3 separate regions of the Homo sapiens genome follow, and all the other regions are linked to region 2. Evidence: promoter capture Hi-C in human tissues and cell types (Jung and others, 2019). All regions are on one chromosome and are shown on one strand. The core of a region is centred on a gene start or on the middle of the fragment in contact, and the rest is flanking DNA. Distances in the headings are between cores, read along the strand shown. Region 1 holds the start of CUL1 (cullin 1). Region 2 has its middle 38 kb from the start of GHET1. Region 3 holds the start of ZNF786 (zinc finger protein 786).

What was found. The method cuts DNA at HindIII sites, captures the fragments that hold promoters and counts their contacts. A contact is called where the count stands out against the background at its distance.
Region 1: a contact is called between the fragment with the promoter of CUL1 here and a fragment that was not itself captured in region 2, in 1 of the 25 tissues and cell types used here (lymphoblastoid cells).
Region 3: the fragment with the promoter of ZNF786 here is called in contact with a fragment that was not itself captured in region 2 in 1 of the 25 tissues and cell types used here (adrenal gland).

Annotation. Positions count from the first base shown.
Region 1 is chr7:148,697,555-148,700,254 of GRCh38, reverse strand. It overlaps CUL1 (cullin 1), which reads right to left and starts at 1,352. Exons shown (of 22, transcript NM_003592.3): 1 at 1,226-1,352. RefSeq lists silencers at 348-447, 748-1,777, 2,438-2,497 and enhancers at 325-1,050, 2,118-2,167. The HindIII fragment of the contact is 3,848 bases long and covers 629-2,700 here.
Region 2 is chr7:148,947,782-148,950,481 of GRCh38, reverse strand. No RefSeq gene overlaps it. Among named protein-coding and RNA genes, the nearest start is that of GHET1, 38 kb to the left of the region's middle. The HindIII fragment of the contact is 6,313 bases long and covers 1-2,700 here.
Region 3 is chr7:149,089,410-149,092,109 of GRCh38, reverse strand. It overlaps ZNF786 (zinc finger protein 786), which reads left to right and starts at 1,392. Exons shown (of 4, transcript NM_152411.4): 1 at 1,392-1,487. The coding sequence starts at 1,470. RefSeq lists silencers at 541-1,030, 1,151-1,450. The HindIII fragment of the contact is 46,746 bases long and covers 1-2,700 here.

The DNA of each region.
Region 1 (2,700 bases), core at 103-2,602, 250 kb after region 2:
CAAAAAGTGTGATCGTTTACTCCACTCAGAACTTTTGACGATTTTAATGCTACTACAGGAAAGAGCAATTACACAGAGCAAACAAATATTTAAGTAGACTGCAATTCAGTATTTGCGCACTTACCACTAACCCCTACTACGAACCAGAAGCAACCAAGAGTGACCCAATCGGAAAAGAGAATCCTCTTTTTGGCAAAGCCAGCCAGGGAGAAAACCCTAACTTTGGGGATTCATTTCAAGGAATGTCTACAAGCATTCCTCTCTTTCTTATCTTATGTCTGCGCTACACAATACTGCACGGGTGGCAGAAACGGGGGTCTTTCAGATCTTAAGGGAAAAAAAAGCGACGACCCCCGAGTCTGGGGACCCCAAGTCCCAGCGGCCTGGCGGGCGCACGGCTACCCTCAGGGTCAGGGCGCGCGCTCCCGTTGGGACCGGGGGCGCGCCGAGGCCGCAGCGCAGGGCCCGGCCCGACTAGCGAGCGATAGGCGGGCGCCGGGGGGCTCTGTCCGGTTCGGCCGCCGGGCTAGCATCCCTGCGCGCATGCCCCGGCCCGCTCTCCCAGGAGAACGGGGCAAAAGGGCGACTGTTACCCAATAATAGCGCCCTGCACGTTCGCAACAATGCAGGCGGGGAACCCGAGAGCCGCGGGCAGGGAACCGGAAAGCGAGAGAGCCCGGCTCCGCGGCTGCTCCTGCGCTTGAGCCCAGAGCTCACAGGGGAACACGCGTCGGCCGGAAAGCAGCGCCGGGAAGAAGCGTGGGCGCGAGGGGGCAAGGGCACGGGTCCCGGCGTCCCGCGGAGGTCGCCTCACCAGGCGAGGCGCGGACGCCCGAGCCGCCCCGGGCCACACGTCGGCCCACCCTCCGAGAACCCAGCCCGGTCGCGGCGGGGAAAGGGGCCGGCGCCACCAGGCCGCCGCCTCCAGGCGCGATGAATCGTGCTTTTTCCCAGTGCGTAGTCCAGGCCTGGCCGCCCCGGCCCGTCCGGGGTGACTCAGGGCCCGGCCCCGCTCGCTCCTCTGCCACCTTCGGCGTCCTCCGCCCACGAGTCCCCCGGCCCGGCCGCCATTCTGCCCGGCCGCGTTTCGGCGGCTCAGGCCTCGCCAGGCGCCTGGTTTCGGCCGTCGCGGCCCGAGTCACTGCGACACCGCGGCTCGGGGCCGGGCCTGCGCCGCCGCCGCCGCCGCCACCTCCTCTCGGCCCCGGCGGCTGCCGACACTCACCCGCATCTCTGTGGTGCCCCAAAGGCTCCCGCGACGCCTCCGCCTGGTCCCTGGGCCTGGGCCCCGGCGAAAGCCCCGTCCCGCCAAGGTCTAGCTGCGTCCCTCAGCTACCGGGGCTGCCCCGCCTGGAGCTGCGTGCGACACGGCGCCCGCCTCCTCCTCCTCCCCTGCCCGCCCGGCCCTCCTCCTCCCGCCGCCGCCGCCTGCACCACGCAACCTCCGCCCTCTCGCCTTCCCTGCGCGGCTCCCCGCCCTCTCGGCCTCACCGGCTCCGGCGACCGCGGGGGAGAAGCTGTTGGGGGAGGGCCGGAACGCACCGCCATCGGCGTCCGGGGCGGGGGAGCCGGGAAACCGTCGTCGCCATCGCCCCGCCAGCCCGAGGCGCGGGAGGGGCCCGGAAAGCTCCCTCCCGCCCGCTCGCCGCTGCCGGCGGCCCCGGGGGCGCCCCTTCCGCGGCCGAGGCCCCCGCTCGCGTGGGGAAGCTTCTACCTGCGAGCCTGCGGCCCCTGCCCCCGGCACCCGAGACATCCCCGACCCGGCGCGCCGGATTCTCTGCCAGGTTTTACAGCCTCCCTCGCCTTGGGACCGCCGCGGAGGACCCGTTCCCGCCACTTCGGACCTCGCGAGCGGGGCTGAGCTGCTTGGGTCGGGGACACCACCAGCCTCTGGAGAAACGGCCCGAAGCACCCCGAAGAAGAGGGGGTCCCAGTCCCCTGCCCCTCCCTTGTGCGCACCCCCACCCCCAGCTTGCCTGGAACCTGACTCCACACCTTTGTCGACCGGGACAGGGACTGGGGGTTGCACCCCAGATCAGAAAGTCAGAGGTGGCCCTCCGAATCGGCGCGGACTTCCGAGGAACCTCAGCCAATTCTCGACCCCCTTACCACCTGCAAGGCCTTAGGAATCGGCTCCAGAAAGCTCGAGCTTATCTGCGTGTTTCGTTTTAAAAATCACTTCTAAGATAAAACCTAACTAGGCTTTCCCCTTCAGACTTTCAGTAACTCCTGTTTGGCAAATTTTGACATTCACTCTATCCTTCGTCTTTGTAAGGACATATCAAGACTTAGAAGGCTTTGATTACACATACGGATGGCATGAGTCGTGATATAAAATAGTATTGTTTTCACGTGTACTTCGAAGTCATCTCATTTGAAATTAACTGTCATAATTGACTATTTGGAATATTCAACCTAAATACTACCCGCTGCTGTGGTGACGGGGGGTGGAGGAAGCGTGGTGGAACCCCAACACCTAGTGAGGGGTGGCTGATTAATACCACGGCTCACAACATAACAGAGCGGCTCATTCCATGAACAACCCCGGGGGGATTTCGAATTCTATCATCTGGGCAAAAGATGTGATGAGTGTAACTTCCTGTTTTCTCCAAACTAAAACACTACGCAGATTCCTGTACCGCTCTGGGACAGAAATCCTCAGCCAGAGCAGAGGCCGTCCCCAGAGTCCACACTGTTTCC
Region 2 (2,700 bases), core at 188-2,687:
TCTTGCTCTGTTGCCGAGTGGAGGGCACTGGCATTGTGTCCGGAATTGGTGGGTTCTTGGTCTCACTGACATCAAGAATGAAGCTGCGGACCCTCGCGGTGAGTGTTACAGCTCTTAAGGTGGCGCCTCTGGAGTTAGTCCCTTCTGATGTTCAGATGTGTTTGGAGTTTCTTCCTTCTGGTGGGTTCGTGGTCTCACTGGCTCAGGAGTGAAGCTGCAGACCTTCACGGTGAATGTTACTGCTTTTAAGGCAGCGTGTCTGGAGTTGTTCATTTCTCCCGGTTGGCTTGTGGTCTCGCTGGACTCAGGAGTGAAGTTGCAGATCTTCGCGGTGAGTGTTACAGCTCATAAAAGCAGCGTGGACCCAAAGGGCGAGCAGTAGCAAGATTTATTGCAAAGAGTGAAAGAACAAAGCTTCCACAGCGTGGAAGGGGACCCGAGCAGGTTGCCACTGCTGGCTGGGCAGCCTGCTTTTATTCTCTTATCTGGCCCCACCCACATCCTGCTGATTGGTAGAGCCGAGTGGCCTGTTTTGTCAGGGTGCTGATTGGTGCATTTACAATCCCTGAGCTAGATACAAAGGTTTTCCACGTCCCCATCAGATTAGTTAGATACAGAGTTTCCACACACAGGTTCTCCAAGGCCCCACCAGAGCAGCTAGATACAGAGTGTCGATTGGTGCATTTACAAACCTTGAGCTAAACACAGGGTGCTGATTGGTGTGTTTCCAAACCTTGAGCTAGATACAGAGTGCCGATTGGTGTATTTACAATCCCTGAGCTAGACATAAAGGTTCTCCATGTCCTCACCAGAGCAGCTAGATACAGAGTGTCGATTGGTGCACTCACAAACCTTGAGCTAAACACAGGGTGCTGATTGGTGTATTTACAATCCCTGAGCTAGATATAAAGACTCTCCACGTCCCCACCAGACTCAGGAGCCCAGCTGGCTTCACCTAGTGGATCCCGCACCGGGGCTGCAGGTGGAGCTGCCCGCCAGTCCTGCGCCGTGCGCTCGCATTCCTCAGCCCTTGGGTGGTCGATGGGACTGGGTGCCGTGGAGCAGGGGGTGGTGCTCGTTGGGGAGGCTGGGGCCGCACAGGAGCCCATGGAGTGGGTGGGAGGCTCAGGCATGGCGGGCTGCAGGTCCCGAGCCCTGCCCTGCGGGAAGGCAGCTAAGGCCCAGCGAGAAATCGAGCACAGCGCCGGTGGGCCGGCACTGCTGGGGGACTCAGTACACCCTCCGCAGTCACTGGCCCGGGTGCTAAGTCCCCCATTGCCTGGGGCCAGCAGGGCTGGCTGGCTGCTCCGAGTGCGGGGCCCACCAAGCCCACGCCCACCCGGAACTCCAGCTGGCCCGCAAGCGCCGCACGCAGCCCCGGTTCCCGCTCGTGCCTCTCCCTCCACACCTCCCTGCAAGCTGAGGGAGTGGGCTCTGGCCTTGGCCAGCCCAGAAAGGGGCTCCCACAGTGCAGTGGGGGGCTGAAGGGCTCATCAAATGCCACCAAAGTGGGAGCCCAGGCAAGGGAGGTGCCGAGAGCGAGCGAGGGCTCTGAGGACTGCCAGCATGCTGTCACCTCTCAGCATGATCTCGGCTCACTGCAACCTCCGCCTCCTGATTTCAAGCGATGCTCCTGCCTCAGCCTCCCGAGTAGCTGGGATTACAGATGTGCACCACCACACCCGGCTAATTTTTTGTATTTTTAGTAGAGACGGGGTTTCACCATGTTGGTCAGGCTGGTCTTGAACTCCTGACCTCAAGTGGTCCACCCACCTTGGCCTCCCAAAGTGCTGGCATTACAGGCGTGAGCTACCACACCCAGCTTAATTTTTATGTTTTGTTGTTGTTGTTGTTGTTGTTTGAGATGGAGTCTAGCTAGCTCTGTCACCCAGGCTGGAGTGCAGTGGTGCAATCTCGGTTCACTGTAACCTCCGTCTCCTGGGTGCAAGCAATTCTCCTGCCTTAGCCTCCCTAGTAGCTGGGACTACAGTTGCCTGCCACCATACCCAGCTAATTTTTGTATTTTTAGTAAAGACAGGGTTTCATCATGTTGGCCAGGCTGGTCTTGAACTCCTGACCTCAAGTGATCCTCTCACCTCCGCCTCCCAAAGTGCTAGGATTACAGGGGTGAGCCACCACCCCAGCCTGGGTTCTTGTTTTTAAAACAAGCAACTCCTATGTAGAAGGCATTGAGGCTAATGAAACGAATACAATTGCATACCCACTACTAAAGAAGTTATTATCTATTTGGGGATATAAGACACATTTGCAAATTATTAGGAAACAGCAAAGGATATGCTAAATGGCAACACACAAAAAAGGAATAAACAAGACTCTTTCGTGGTTTCCAGAACAGAGAGCAGACCCAAGGGAGGGGGTCCAGTCCCATGAAACTGTGGAACAGCAAGGATCTGTCTATTGGTTAGAGCCAGAAGGGATAGACTCAGCTGGACACCCTTACAAGCAGCAGAAGAAAGTCAAACGAGGTTTAGCAGTCAAGGAACCCTCTAAAGTAACTCAGTAGTTCTCTTGAGGTCTCTGGCAGGGTAACAAAGGCAGTGGCTTCCATAAGGGCCAGCCTTCAAATCTGGCATGGGCTCTGATCGAATTGCCCTTGGGCATAGCAGCAGCAGGGGTTAGCTGAAGGAGTGGAAAGTTCTAGTCGAAGTCTGATATATTACTAACTAAAAAAAAAAAAAA
Region 3 (2,700 bases), core at 143-2,642, 140 kb before region 2:
AAGGTCAGGAGTTTGAGGCCAGCCTGACCAACATGGTGAAACCTCGTCTCTACTAAAAATACAAAAATTAGCCGGGCGTGGTGGCAAATGCCTGTAATCCCAGCTACTCGGGAGGCTGAGGCAGGAGAATTGCTTGAATCCAGGAGACAGAGGTTGCAGTGAGCCGAGATTGCGCCACAGCACTCCAGCCTGGGTGACAAGAGTGAGACTTTGTCTCCAAAAAAAAAAAATTGTACTGTATAACAGTTGTAAAAATAAAAAACGTTAAACAGTAAGGTGCATGTACATTTCACGATTCTGTGGCAAACACAGATGCGTATATGCTCCTCAGCCTACGCAGGGACTATTTTATTTCTTATGCACATCCTCTCCAAACTACACACTTTTCCTTTGCTACTTCAGCCTGACACCTAAGACATGACTAAGACAGAATGCGAGGTTGATTTTCTGGAGACAATCGCCACCCCCTTCCTCGCCCTCTCTCCTTTCTGTCTCTTCCTGGTTTCCCCACCTCTCCCCTGTTCTTGCGTTCTCGTGTTTCTCACGCCCTGTGTCATGGCCTCCTCCGTCTTCTCCTCCTACTCTGTCTCTGTCTCCTGCCGGGGCCCGGGGTGCCCGACCGCAGCCTTGGGCCACCCTGAGTCCCTGCAGGCGGCCCTGAGGCCGGGGTGGCTTCCGCATGGGGTCTCTGCCCAAGGCCGTTCTCTGCTAAGGAAGGAGCGTGGCCGCCCGGGGAGCCCGGAGGGCTCTAGACCCACGGCGACCGGACCTGGTGGGCGGACCCCGCCTCCGCGTCCCCGGCGGGACAAGCATGGGGCCCCCACGGCCTCCGCGCCCCCGGCGGGACGGATGCCCCGGGCCACCGCGGGCAGCGCGCGCCCCCCACCCACTTTCCGGCCTCGCTGGATTCCCGGGACCCCCTCACAGACGAAGCCTGTCTCGGGGGCGGCTTTGGGAGGAACCGCACCGGAGGTTCCCCTCTCGCTGCCTCTCAGTCTGGGTTTCTGTGGAGCGCGTCTCCCTGTCCCTGTCCCTGATCTCTCCCTGTCCCTGTCCCTGATCTCTCCATGTCCTGCCCCTCCGTTTCCCCTCCGGCCAGCTCCTCAGCTTGTCTCTGACCGCTTCCCTCCCCAGATCCCGGGAATCCGAGGGTCCCTCAAAGACCGGCGTGCTGCGGCCTGCTCTGAGGGCGCCCGGGCCCCTGGGTCCCTCCTCTGAGGACCGACGCTCAGGCAGCGCCGCTTCTTCCTCCCGCAGGAGGCGCTGTAGGACTGAGCGGCAGCCGCGGCCGGGCGCCGGGTCCCAGCATGCACCGCGCCCGGCCGGCGCTGCGTTTGGGGGCCACCCGGGCTGTGCGTGGGAGTCGGGTTGGGGCGGAGCGGAGGGGAGTCAGTGCGCAGCAGGGCAGGTTCCTGCGGAGCCGCCGGAGACGGTCGGGTTTGCCAGGGCCGGGCGGGACCGCGGGGACCATGGCGGAGCCGCCTCGGGTAAGCGGGCTAGCCTGTTTGGACGCCCGGTTTCGGGGTCGTGGTGGGTCCTCGGGTTCCGGGCTCGCCCGTGTCCTGGGGTCCCCGTGAGTGCGCGCGGTGCACGGGTAGGACGGAGTCTGCAGGCTGCTTCTGCTGGGGATGTGGATTCCGGGCCCTGCGGTGAGCAGGTGGCCTCCGCTCCCGCGGCTTGTCCGTGGCCAAACCCCTGGACAAAGCCGAGCGTGGACCGAGGCCGACCTAGGAGCGGGGCGGAGCCTGGGCGAGGATGCCGGGCGGACGGGGAGCGGACGGTGGAAAGGATAGAAAGGTTTGGGGCCAGAGGTGGATGTTACAGGTCAACCAGTTTTACATCATAGTCACCGAAATCAGAACAACTGTTCCAAAAAGTTTAAGATTCCGAATGGTTGAAATGGTGTTTGGCGGGGGCTTCAATGTCAGAATTTATTGTCTAGCGTGATTTGGGTTGAGTGTAAGATGATACGTTGGGAAGAGTAGAAGAGGATACAAAAAATTAAGTTAGTGGTTTCTTAAAATCGAGGTTTAGAGGGTATTTTTATCTTGTAAACTTTAATGTTGAGGATTTTTGCTGATTATTAAATGAATTAGGCCGGGCGCGGTGGCTCACGCCTGTAATCCCAGCACTTTGGGAGGCCGAGGCGGGTGGATCACGTGAGGTCGGGAGTTCGAGACCAGCCTGGCCAACATGGTGAAACCCCAACTCTACTAAAAATACAAAAAATTAGCCTGGCATGATGGCGGGCGCCTGTAATCCCAGCTACTCGGGAGGCTCAGGCAGGAGAATTGTTTGAACCCGGGAGACGGAGGTTGCAGTGAGCCGAGACTGCACCATTGCACTCCAGCCTGGGCAACAAGAGCGAAACTCCGTCTCCAAAAATATATACATACCTATATATATGGGGAAAGGATATAAACAGCCAAATCACAGACCTGAAAATAAATTATTAATGAGTAAAAGAATGGATTTTAAAACTTGTGACATTCAGGCCAGGCGCCGTGGTTTACGCCTGTAATCCCAGCACTTTGAGAGGCCGAGGTGGGCAGATCACTTGACGTCAGGAGTTCAAGACCAGCCTGGCCAACATGGCGAAAAACTGTCTCTACTAAAAAATACGAAAATTAGCTGAGTGTGGTGGCGGACGCCTGTAATCCCAGCTCCTCGGGAGGCTGAGGTAGGGAGAATTGCTTGAAC